Regions from separate parts of the Homo sapiens genome. Here regions 1, 2 and 3 are each linked to region 4. Evidence: promoter capture Hi-C in 16 types of primary human blood cells and fetal thymus (Javierre and others, 2016). All regions are on one chromosome and are shown on one strand. The core of a region is centred on a gene start or on the middle of the fragment in contact, and the rest is flanking DNA. Distances in the headings are between cores, read along the strand shown.

What was found. The method cuts DNA at HindIII sites, captures the fragments that hold promoters and counts their contacts. A CHiCAGO score of 5 or more calls a contact.
Region 1: the fragment with the promoter of OR10K1 here is called in contact with a fragment that was not itself captured in region 4 in 1 of 17 cell types (erythroblasts); the score reaches 6.2 in erythroblasts.
Region 2: a contact is called between the fragment with the promoter of OR10T2 here and a fragment that was not itself captured in region 4, in 4 of 17 cell types (fetal thymus, naive B cells, total B cells and 1 more). The highest score is 9.5, in fetal thymus.
Region 3: the fragment with the promoter of CD1B here is called in contact with a fragment that was not itself captured in region 4 in 10 of 17 cell types (M2 macrophages, M1 macrophages, fetal thymus and 7 more); the score reaches 13.7 in M2 macrophages.

The regions. Positions count from the first base shown.
Region 1 is chr1:158,460,541-158,463,240 of GRCh38, forward strand. OR10K1 (olfactory receptor family 10 subfamily K member 1) reads left to right here and starts at 1,294. Exons shown (of 2, transcript NM_001004473.2): 1 at 1,294-1,364. LOC107985212 (a long non-coding RNA gene) reads right to left here and starts at 2,231. Exons shown (of 2, transcript XR_001738256.3): 1 at 1,631-2,231; 2 at 1-1,210. The HindIII fragment of the contact is 25,948 bases long and covers 1-2,700 here.
Region 2 is chr1:158,398,198-158,400,989 of GRCh38, forward strand. It overlaps OR10T2 (olfactory receptor family 10 subfamily T member 2), which reads right to left and starts at 1,269. Exons shown (of 1, transcript NM_001004475.1): 1 at 325-1,269. The coding sequence starts at 1,269. The coding sequence ends at 325. The HindIII fragment of the contact is 4,820 bases long and covers 1-2,792 here.
Region 3 is chr1:158,330,157-158,332,856 of GRCh38, forward strand. CD1B (CD1b molecule) reads right to left here and starts at 1,375. Exons shown (of 6, transcript NM_001764.3): 1 at 1,207-1,375; 2 at 640-906. The coding sequence starts at 1,267. The HindIII fragment of the contact is 309 bases long and covers 1,328-1,636 here.
Region 4 is chr1:159,074,119-159,076,891 of GRCh38, forward strand. AIM2 (absent in melanoma 2) reads right to left here and starts at 2,648. Exons shown (of 6, transcript NM_004833.3): 1 at 2,515-2,648. The HindIII fragment of the contact is 734 bases long and covers 1,034-1,767 here.

The DNA of each region.
Region 1 (2,700 bases), core at 44-2,543, 610 kb before region 4:
GACACATGGGGCTGTACTAGGTATTGGCACAGAGCCAGTGCAGTAACTGAGCCTCAAGTAAACCGTTTCATATTCCACCAGGTCACCTCCTTCTGAGCGGTGGAATACACAGAGGCTTCCCAGTATTATTTAGTACATAATTATAATTCTCTCACTGACTTGTGAGGTCACTTCTGCCAAAGACCAAGTTCTCAAATACACATACATTAATTTCTGAGCTCTCCTTTCTGTCTCTATACTACTTATTTCTTCTTGCACCAATAGCATGCTCTTTTTTATTACTAAAGCATAGTTTTTTTTTACTAGGAAGAGTGAGGGCCTATATTACTTGCCCTTTACAAAATTGTTTTATAATTTCATGAAAATTTTGGAAATCTGATTGTCAGGGTGACTTCAAAATTTATGCATGGATTTGGGTTGGAATTATATTGGCTTTATAGATTAGCTTGAACAAAATTCACAACTCTATATTATTTTGTCATTCTGGTAAAATGCATTAATAAGATAACACACTGTTTGATGACAGAGCTCAACTAGATTTAGTATACTTACTAAAATTTTAGGTTTTTGCAAAACATCTCAATGTTCTTAATTAGAGTTTCTAGGGGCAGCGCCCTGGAAAACATCATTCAACCCTCTTTTGATTCTTAGAAACACTGAAGTTGAGTGTCATTGGACAAATACATCAGTCTTCTGATTAAAATTCAGTAAAAATTTTCCACTTGGTCTGTTGCATTACAGTCTTAATTGTGGTGGGCTCTCCTTCAGAATCCATCACAACTTTCAAATGGACTCAACTTTCAAAGCATACATGGGCTAATTATGCTCATGACTTCAACTCCCCAGGCTCCTCAACTGAGGCCACCTTTGAGAAACTGGTGACATTATTTTTTCCAAAATGAACTTGACTCCTAATTAACCCCAAGACAACAGCTCCAGTGCAGTAGATCTAACCTCAGGAGTCCAGTGTTTACAGTACATGCTTCTAATAACCACATCCCACGTTGGTCATCAGAACTTCTGAAGATGGTGACTTATCTGGAGAAGCTGGGAGTCCTGATAGATGGAGGAGGCTAGCTCTGTTGATTCAGATGAGAGTTTCTATCTCAAGGCAGCTTCCCTCTCATTTGCTGTTATTTCCTCAGGCTCTGATTTGTGGCAGTGGTGCTACTTGTCAGGAGACTGCCAAATACTGAATAGCTGCTTCTCTCTAAATTAGAAGGGAGAGAGCAATGTAAGTACTTACCGAGCAGTGGGAACATTGACCTAGCTTGGGGATTTGTGGGGACTGGACTTGAATGATGGGTAGTGTTTGAGAAAGCCTCTTTCTGTGCCTCCCATGGAGATCAGTGATGGCATTTCTGGTAAGTAGCAGAGTTAAAAAGGAGAATCAGAGGCTACCTTTCACTGAACTTACTAAGAGTGACTGGGAATGGCCTTTATAATTCTCAGAATTTGGCTGGGTGTAGTGGCTCACCCCTGCAATCCCAACACTTTGAGAGGACAAGATGGGTGAATCACCTGAGGTCAGGAGTTTGAGACCAACCTGGCCAACATGATGAAACCCCGTCTCTACTAAAAATAAAAAAATTAGCCAGGCATGGTTGCGTGCACCTGTAATCCCAGCTACCTGGGAGGCTGAGGCAGGAGAATTTCTTGAACCTGGGAGGCAGAAGTTGCAGTGAGCCGAGACCGTGCCATTGCATTCCAGCCTGGGAAACAGAGTGAGACTCCTTCTGAAAAAAAAAAAAAAATTATCTGAATTGTTCTTGAAGATCATATTGGGTCATTCTTACTCATAGCTAGATTTTATTTTCTTTTTTCTTTTCCTTCCTTCCTTCCTTTCTTCCTTACTTCCTTCCTCCCTTCCTTCTTTCCTTCCTTCCTTCCTCCTCTACTTCTCTTTTTTGTTCATTGGTGGATTCATGGATTAAATGAAACAGATACTCCACTTGTCTCTCATCTCTCACTCTTCTACTTCTGTTTCTGCTGTGTACTCCTGGATGTATAATTTTAGGTATAATTGAAATCTAGTACTTAAACTCCATTTTAATATGGCAATCTGGAGAAATTAAAGATTTTTATTTGTATCTAAGAAGTTAAAATTTCACTCCTTTATTATCTGAAGCTGCTTACATAATTTCTCTCAGCTAACTGATTGATGTTTTCCTTAAAATAAATATTTATATTTCTTAAAAGTTTTACACGTGAAAACTCTGTAGATTGCCTTCTTTTGGGGGAACCCAGCACCCTCAAGTACTTTGTTTCTATTTAAATCCAGATTACATAAAATCCCAGTGGAGCATCTGAGGAATTAGAAAAATAAAACACTGAAGTAGCATCTCCAAGGATCATAGCCTGAATTCTATTCATACGTTCTAAAATATCACAATTAAGGGGATTTTGAGATCATCTAACTAGAGAGTCTTTGATTCTCTGAGCAAGAAAGGCTCCTAGGGGTCATAGTACTCCGATACTATCTTAGTCAAAATTCCTCTGTAAAATGTTCAGGGATCCTCTGCTTCAGTGCCTTCCACATATCCCAACAGTTTATTCCATTACTGTTTATGCTATCCCTTTAATTAAAAAAAAAACTAAATATTGAAGGTATATACTTCATCTAAAGTCACAGAAGACTAGACCTGAAACCTAAATCTTTTCACATCACCCTAAAGATCTTTCATCTTCATTTTACAGCTT
Region 2 (2,792 bases), core at 19-2,518, 680 kb before region 4:
CAGCCACTTCAGACTCTGTTCTGTCTCTCCAACTGGAAAAGCAATTCTTGTCCTTATATTTGTTTTGGTTGTGTCTTTCCTTGAAAAACTCTCATGCTTTTCTCTTTTTGCCAAGTGTGAATTCTTTTTTTTTAACTAGACATCGGACAATATAGAGTGTAGATTGACTTGCATTTTTTTTCTTTTTGGAATAGGAGAAAATAAAAAGGCAAGAGTAGTCTTAATCCTTGGAAACACTGTCTGAGACATGCATTAAAGGTCAGAAAATTTTATGCCTTTGATTTCTTCTGTGACTATCCTAGTTAATTTTATTATTATTTTTTGTTAGCTCATCTTGGTTGCCACAGGCATTCCAAGAACTCTTTTCAATGCAGTTTTTACCTCTTTGTTCCTCAGACTGTAGACAAGAGGATTAAGTAAGGGAGTAACCACTGTGTAGGTCACTGCCACCAACTGATCCTTGTCTGAGGCAGACTTGGACTTGGGCCGCAGATAGATGATAGAGGCACAGCCATAGTGGACAAAGACCACAGTGAGATGTGAGGCACAGGTGACAAAGGCCTTCTTGCCCTCAGCTGAGGGGATCTTCAGGATGGTGTTAACTATGAAGCCATAGGATATGAGAATTAACAGAAAAGGCACCATAATTACCAGGATGCTGAGGCTAAATAAAGCCAGCTCTTTCACATGGGTGTCAGTGCAGGCTAACTTGATAACAGGTGCCATGTCACAGAAATAGTGGTTAACCCTGTTGGGGCCACAAAAACGCATGTCACAAATGAGGTTGGTGGCCACCAAAGCAATAAAGAAACCTGTGGCTCCTGAGAGAGAAATCAACTCCAACCCCAGCCTTTTGTTTATGATGAGTGTGTACCTCAGAGGGTGACAAATTGCTACATAGCGATCATATCCCATCACAGCAATGAGGAGGCAGTTGGTGCAAGCAAAGCCAAGGAAAAAGAACAGCTGGGTGGCACAGGCCATGAAGGAGATGGTCTTGGTGTCTGAGAGCAGGTGGACCAGCAGCTGAGGGATGATGACAAAAGTGTAGCAGGACTCAGAAAATGAAAGGATGAATAGAAAGCCATACATGGGAGTGTGGAGAGTCCAGCTGAAGCGAATAACGGCCATGATGGTCACATTGGCCACCAGGATTGTCAAGTATAGGAGAAGAAAGATGACAAAAAGCAGCAGCTGGAGCTCCCCCAGGCTGGAGAAACCCACCAGGATGAACTGTGTAACCACAGTGGTTTTGTTGAAACCTCGCATCTGAAGAACTTCTTTCTGTGAATGTGTTTGAAAGAGACAAAATGATAACTATCTTTGTAATACGAACATTTTCCCAACGCCTTCACTTTAAGTATATTGTCAGATTCATAATGTTAACATCTCTTTCTCTTAGTCTATCTAGATATAGATGCCTCTTTAATGATTTTTCCAAAAAATTATTAATCTGAAGTAACAGAGAAATGATTATCTACAGTATATAAATACCCCAAAGTTAAAAGGATCCAACTATTTGACAAAGTGAAAAAATTCTCTCAGTTTAAGAAGAACATTACCTTTAATATGGAATAGAAAATTTAAATTATTTTTCTTGTACTGTATGTATTTGGTCCTTGGATGTATATTCTATCCTAGTAATTTGGTTTCTTTTCCTAATATCACAATCCATTTAATTAGCATTATTGTAAAGGCATTAAAACACTGTGCCTCAGAGCATGAACTCAGGAACAAGAATGCTAGAGTTTGAAACTTGCCTTTGCCACTTAGAGCTATGAACTTCAGTGTGACAATTTTTGTCATTTGTAAGACATAAATAATAATAGAACATATTATATAGGATTGTTGTAAGAACTTAGATGGTATCAGTAAAGTACTTGAAACAGCACTTAACACATAGTAACTCCAATCTATGTGTCAGCTGCTTATGCAGTTAAGGAGTTGAGAGGCAAATATCCTGGTTTGATATTTGAACACTAGAAGAGCCTGGATCCTTAAATCAGGACAGAGTTTCCCTGCATTTGACTCAAGTGTTCTTATCCTTGAGATTCTTTTTTTAAAATTGAGCAAAAATTTAAATATGCACAGTTAAAGAAAGAACTGTTACTTTTACATTAAAAATTATTTTCTTTTTAATTTATTTTTTATTAGCAACTAATAATTATACCTATTTATGGGGTATTATGTGATGTTTGGATACATGTATACATTGTGGGATGATTAAATCAGGGTTCTTTAATAAATCTGCCCTTTTTTATCTAAGGAGTCTATAGCCTTTGAATTCTCTTTCATGATTCTATGACATTTGTTCTGTATGTTTCTGGAACTGTGAAGGGACCCAAGTGTAAAACCTGGGTCACAAGGTTATGATGTATCTGTCTATGAAACAAAATAGATTGATGATCACTAGGGATAGGGGTGGAGCAGGAAGACTTAGGTTAAGTCTTCTCTCTATTGAAGAAAGGAGAGGAAATAACGTGAACACACCTTGAATCTCTTGCAAATAAAATAGCCAGAAAGTGCTAAATGGAAAGAGAAGAGCCTATCTCAGGAACTTCCCATTATTTTATAGTCTAGGTTATTCCTCCTCCCAGAGCCCTAATCATTTTTACTTTCAGAATCAGCTTCAGAGATTCAGGAGAAACCAGATGTAATATTTGCACAACTCAACATCTCCCAACTTGTTGGCTACTTTAATGGCTATAAGATGTTAGGAGTTGTTTGACATGACACACTTGAGTTTGTTCATTGTTCATCATCTCTGTTGTGGTTTATTTGCTTAGGTAGTT
Region 3 (2,700 bases), core at 125-2,624, 740 kb before region 4:
TATTAAACACAAATAAGAAAAAAAGGCATGAGAAAAGAACCTAGGATTTTAGATTTTGGTGGGGATAAAGTTATTTGGTGTAAAATGATGATGAGCTAAAAACTAATGATAACATTTAGACATTTTCAGAAACAAGAGCATTGAGAAAAATGTGCATGCCATGAAGACAAAGGTATGTGATAAAGGAGTACAGTGAGTATGAAAGGAGAGGTGAGGCAGAGCGTGGTGCAGTCAGGAGTGCAGCATTCCAGAGTGAGTGGAGGTTCCCAGCAAGAGGAGGGTGCGGGGAGGAGATGATTGAAAAGATGGATTAGGGGAGAAAGCCACACGTTAGATCACTCAGGCACAGGGTAGGAGAAGTAAGGGCCCTTGAGGAGAAGTTTCACATAAGACAAACCAGCAGCTGGTTACAAAGTGGAAGACAGTCTGAGAGTAAGAGAAGAGTGCAGAGGCAGCAAGAATCTGAAATATGAGGTGTGATGGTGTGAAGCTGGAGTGAGAGACTACTCAAGAAAAGCATGTGCGTGCATTTGGGTAAAATAGAAAGGAAGGGAGAAGCATCAGAGAGAGCAACACTTTGCAAAAAAGAGAGAAAAGAGAGTCCTTGAGACTCTTCCCAGTTCGGTGGACTAGACTCACATTTCATCTGGAAATCACCGGCAAAGTCTTGTACTTCTCGAGCGAATCCAAAGATGTAGACTCGGAATATCTCCTCTAACTCAGCAACCTCCTTATCACTAAAGTTACCTTTAGACCAAGGCTTCAGGAATATGGCAGTGCCTGAGTCGCTATCCCAGCCATGAATCTGCAAATCATCCAACCAGCCTGAGCCTTGAGTTTGTGCCCAGGTACTATTGGTAAAGGACGAGGTCTGGATAACATGAAAGGAGGTCGGCCCCTGGAAGGCTGTGAAGAGTGGAAAAGCAAGATGGTGAAGATAAAGAGAGAAGCAGGAGACAATTAGGAAGAATGGGAATGAAAATGATTTAGAAAACAAGAACCTAGAGTCTAAAGAACACAGGAAGTCTGACACATTTGACTGCCTTAAGGCTTCAGGTTCTAGTCCCAACCACCAGAATGGTTGAAGAGGGCGGGAGACAGAAAGACCCAGACCCTTAGTGTCCAATTGCACCTAGGAAAGCCCTGCTTGCTTTTTAAAATCCAAACCCCTGCACCAGTGCTGGGAGCTGCCAGAGTGACTCTTACCATGTTCACTGTTACCACCAGGAAAGAGAACAGCTAACAGTTGAAATGGCAGCAGCAGCATTTCACTGGGAGATGCAACTTCTTACTGGCAGAGCTGGTATTTGATCTCCAATTTCAGCAAAGCTTTTCCTCAGTACCCTGTAGTGACTTCTTCTCTCTTCCAACTGCCAAATCTCTTCCTCATCCAAACTGCTTTTCAGAGAAAAATGTGCCTCCCACAGCCCTGAGCCTCTTACCTCACCTTTTATTTCCCTCAAGCCCTGATTTTTAGAGTTTCTCTTACCCCCTGACTTCCAGCCGCTCTCCCTGTCCTCACCTTCCTTCATACCTCCTTGGAAAAGCCCCCATATGATTCTGCATTTTCATTTCTCCTTCCTTAGCCTTTATTCCCACATCTATAGGATAAGATGGTGATATTAAGCAATTGCTAAGCTTTTAGTCTGCTTTAACCCAGAAGGATGCTTTTAGTTTATCCACCTCACTTAGTTTCTCCCCCTCCCAGCTGCCTTATCTTCTCTGGCACTCTGTTACTGCCTCTTCCCAATGTTTTCAATGTCTTCTCTTTCTTATATTGCCCTCTTTGTCTGGTGTTCCTTACCCCACATTCTAAACTGGCTGTGAGTGTGTGTGTGTGTGTGTCTGTGTCTGTGTGTGTATGTGTATGTGTGTGTACCGATATTCACTTACATAAAGGCAAAGCATTTAAAACATTTCCTGTACTATAGCACTACAAACCAAAATGCCAGAATCAAATATAATAAAGACTGAAGTTTATAATTCAAACAAAATTATACTATAGCAATATTTGAGGGAAAAAATGACAATTGCTGCTAGCATGTGACCTTCTCTTCAGGAGCTCTTGGCCTATGGAGTTTTGAGTAACAAATATTCATGACATAAACAGAACTCTAGGAGCTATGCTATGTGCACCTCCAGCCTAAGTCAAAGATAACTTTTTGGGTAAGTTGCCATAAGCGGCAGAGCTTTTTTCTTCTCTTGTAATATCTCATAACTGCTGTCTACATTTGGGCATTCATATCACCACATGTGGTATTAATAATAGAGCAAAGAGGTTGCTTTTTTTTATACAAAAAGTTCAGAGATACTTGTTTTAAGATGTCACCTCCTATCTTCTTGTATGCCCATGAAAAATTTTAAGAAGAATTTTTGGATTTTCTCCATTTAGGAAAAAAATCACATATTTGCAGAGATCTATGTATCATGCAGAAATGTGGCAGCAATCGATTCCGAGTAAAGAGGGTTATCACTAACTAATTCTATTATGTGGATAAGAAAATGCAAAGTGAGTAGTGTAGTGTTCTCTATTCCTGGGGACACTACTGGTTCACAACATTAATAAGACTGGTTCACAACATTAATAAGACTAGCCTTCATCCAAGATTATTACTGCCTAATTGATAAATACAGAGCAGCTCTCCAAATTTCAATGTATGTATCTCTTAACAACATTCCCAGACTCCAATACATGACAGA
Region 4 (2,773 bases), core at 151-2,650:
AACTGGCATACAACACGGTGCATACACTGGAAGTATACAATCTGATAAATTTTGGCATATACATATACCTGATGAAGTGCAATTAATCAATCTGTTCTTTCATGGATCATGCTTTCAGTGTCTTATTTAAGAAATCTTTTCCAATCTCAAGATTAGAAGATTTTATGTCTTCCTGTAAGAATTTTACGGTTTGATCATTTCACATTTGGCTGTATGTACTGCTTTGAGTTAATTTGTATATGATATAAGTGATGATTCAAAGTTCATTTATTTTTCATATGAATATGAATTTTCCCAGAATCATATGTTAAAAAGACTGTCATTTTTAATGATTTTTTTTTTTACCTTTGCAAAAATCAGTTGTCCAAATATGAGTGAGTCTATTTCTGGATTCTTTATTCTGTCCATCAACCTATTTTTGTAACTTGTTGCCAAAATCACGTTGTAGTAATATAGTTGTTTATGTATAGTATCCAAAATAATACACAAAACATTATAAATAATAATTCAACAGTTTATAACTATAAGATTAATATACAGAAATGCATTCCTTTATTTTAGTACCACTCCAAGAGAGAAAAAAATTACATAAAAAAAGTAATTTCCAATAGCAACAAAACTACAAAGTACATAAGAACATCGAATACAATATATTTAAGAGTTTTAAAGGGAAACTTATAAAACTTTATTGGGAGATTTAAAGGACCTACTTAAGTGGGTGTATGTCTGATATTTTAAATGGGAAGATTTGATAAAATGAAGACAGCAGTGTTGTCAAATTAATCTATAAACTCCTATCCAAAATCTCAAAGGGTTTTTCATAGAATTTATCAGAATGATCCTAAAACCTAAATGAAAAAAATAAAGACAAAAACCTGCAAAACAAGTTGAATATGTTTATCAGGATGTACTATCCCTACTACTAGGTATCAATACTTACTACAAATGTATAATTATTAAATCAGTATGGCAGTGGCGTAGAAAAAAATGAACTAATAAATAGAGTGTGGAAACAGGACCACATGTAAATTAAAGCTTGGTATATAATCAAAGTGGCATTAAAAATCACAAGGAAAGAATGGCCAACTATAAAAAGTGTTCAGACAAATGACAATACACAGGGAATGATATATTCAGCCTTTCTCTTATATCATACACAAAATATATATCTGGTTGGATTAATTATCTAAATAGAATAGTAATGATGTTGAATAAAACACAGAATTTCTCAATACATTGAAGTAGAAGGAGGTTCCTTAAATAAGGCACAAAAAGGACAAGCCAGAAAAAAAAAATTTGTCAAATGTGATTGCATGCATATTCTCAATTTCTTTGTAGGAAACACACACATCCGTGCACACACACACACTAAACAAAGTGATTATACAAGGCAAAAACTGGGCAGATACCTGCAATACACACACACACACACACACACACACACACACACACACACATATATATATGGCTATACCTGCTATATATATATATATAGAGAGAGAGAGAGAGAGAGAGAGCTAATAGAGGTTTTGCTTTTGGAATACATGGAGAACCATGTATCAATAAGAAAACAACAGTCTATTTGAAAAGTGTGCAAAAGATGTGAATGAGCAATTTGCTCAAATATCCAATAAACATAAAAAAGATGTTTGACATTATTAGCAATTAATGACTTCCAGAGCAGCAACATATAAAGTGGAAGAAATAAGCCAAAGAACAGGAAAAGATGTTTATGAGCTGAAAATAACTGATTGTGAATTTTAGGGAAGCTTGAATACCCCCATCAGTAGAGTCAATGTTAATAAATTCTAAACTATCACTGTTAATGGCCTTATAATGTTTTTTCCTATATGTTGGTAAGCGCTGGAGAAACTCTACTTATACATGTAGAGTTCATGAGTGAAAATTAAAACTATTATCAGGACCATTTTCAAAATAAGGAATACATTAAAAATATTTGCAATGATAAAGCCATCCAAATGCCCCCATCCTACTGATGAAAGCAAGGAAGGACACTACCTTTGTTGAATATCTACTGTGACAATCAGCTTGGATGATTCCTACTTTTCTACTTGTCCATAAGAAGCTAATCTTCCTATAACCCTCTTATATAATAACAATCACATTTTAATCACATTTTATGTGATTGACTCAGTTTTTTCTCTGAAGTTATGTTGCCTTATAAATGAAAAACTTGCATTTTACTTCATAATATCTGTTAACTTAAAAAATGCTTGTATTTGCTATTGGCATAAAAGTCAGCCTTACAAATAGGCTGATAGACAAACCCCAAAGGAAGCCGAAGCTTAAGGAACACCAGCTCAGAGACACCAGAGGACATGGCTAAAGTGAATAAAAGAGAAATGAACCCATCCTTTCAGAGCTGATGTCCATGTTTGCAGGTTCAGGTTCTCAGAGGTGTGCACAGCATGGCTGGCCTTTCCTCAGTTGTCTTTTTCAGCAGAGAAACGGTTAAGTCTCTCGTCTCTAACCCAGCTCCTCTATGGTGCTTACCTCCTGATCCCTGGGGCGATCAGCAAACCGGGTCTGCCACCTTCTTTTCAGAGAGCTTAACTAGCAGAGGACTCAGGAGAGCATGCCCAAATAACCTAGGTGACTTTCAAAGCTACAAAGACTCTGACACTTCTGGACGGCTTCACATGTACCCCTAATAAACACTTCCCTTCACCCCCAGGCCCAGTGTGGGTAGGAGTGACAACTGGAGCTCTAATTGGCTGAGCTGGTTTGGGTTCTCACTAGCAGCCACAGAAGA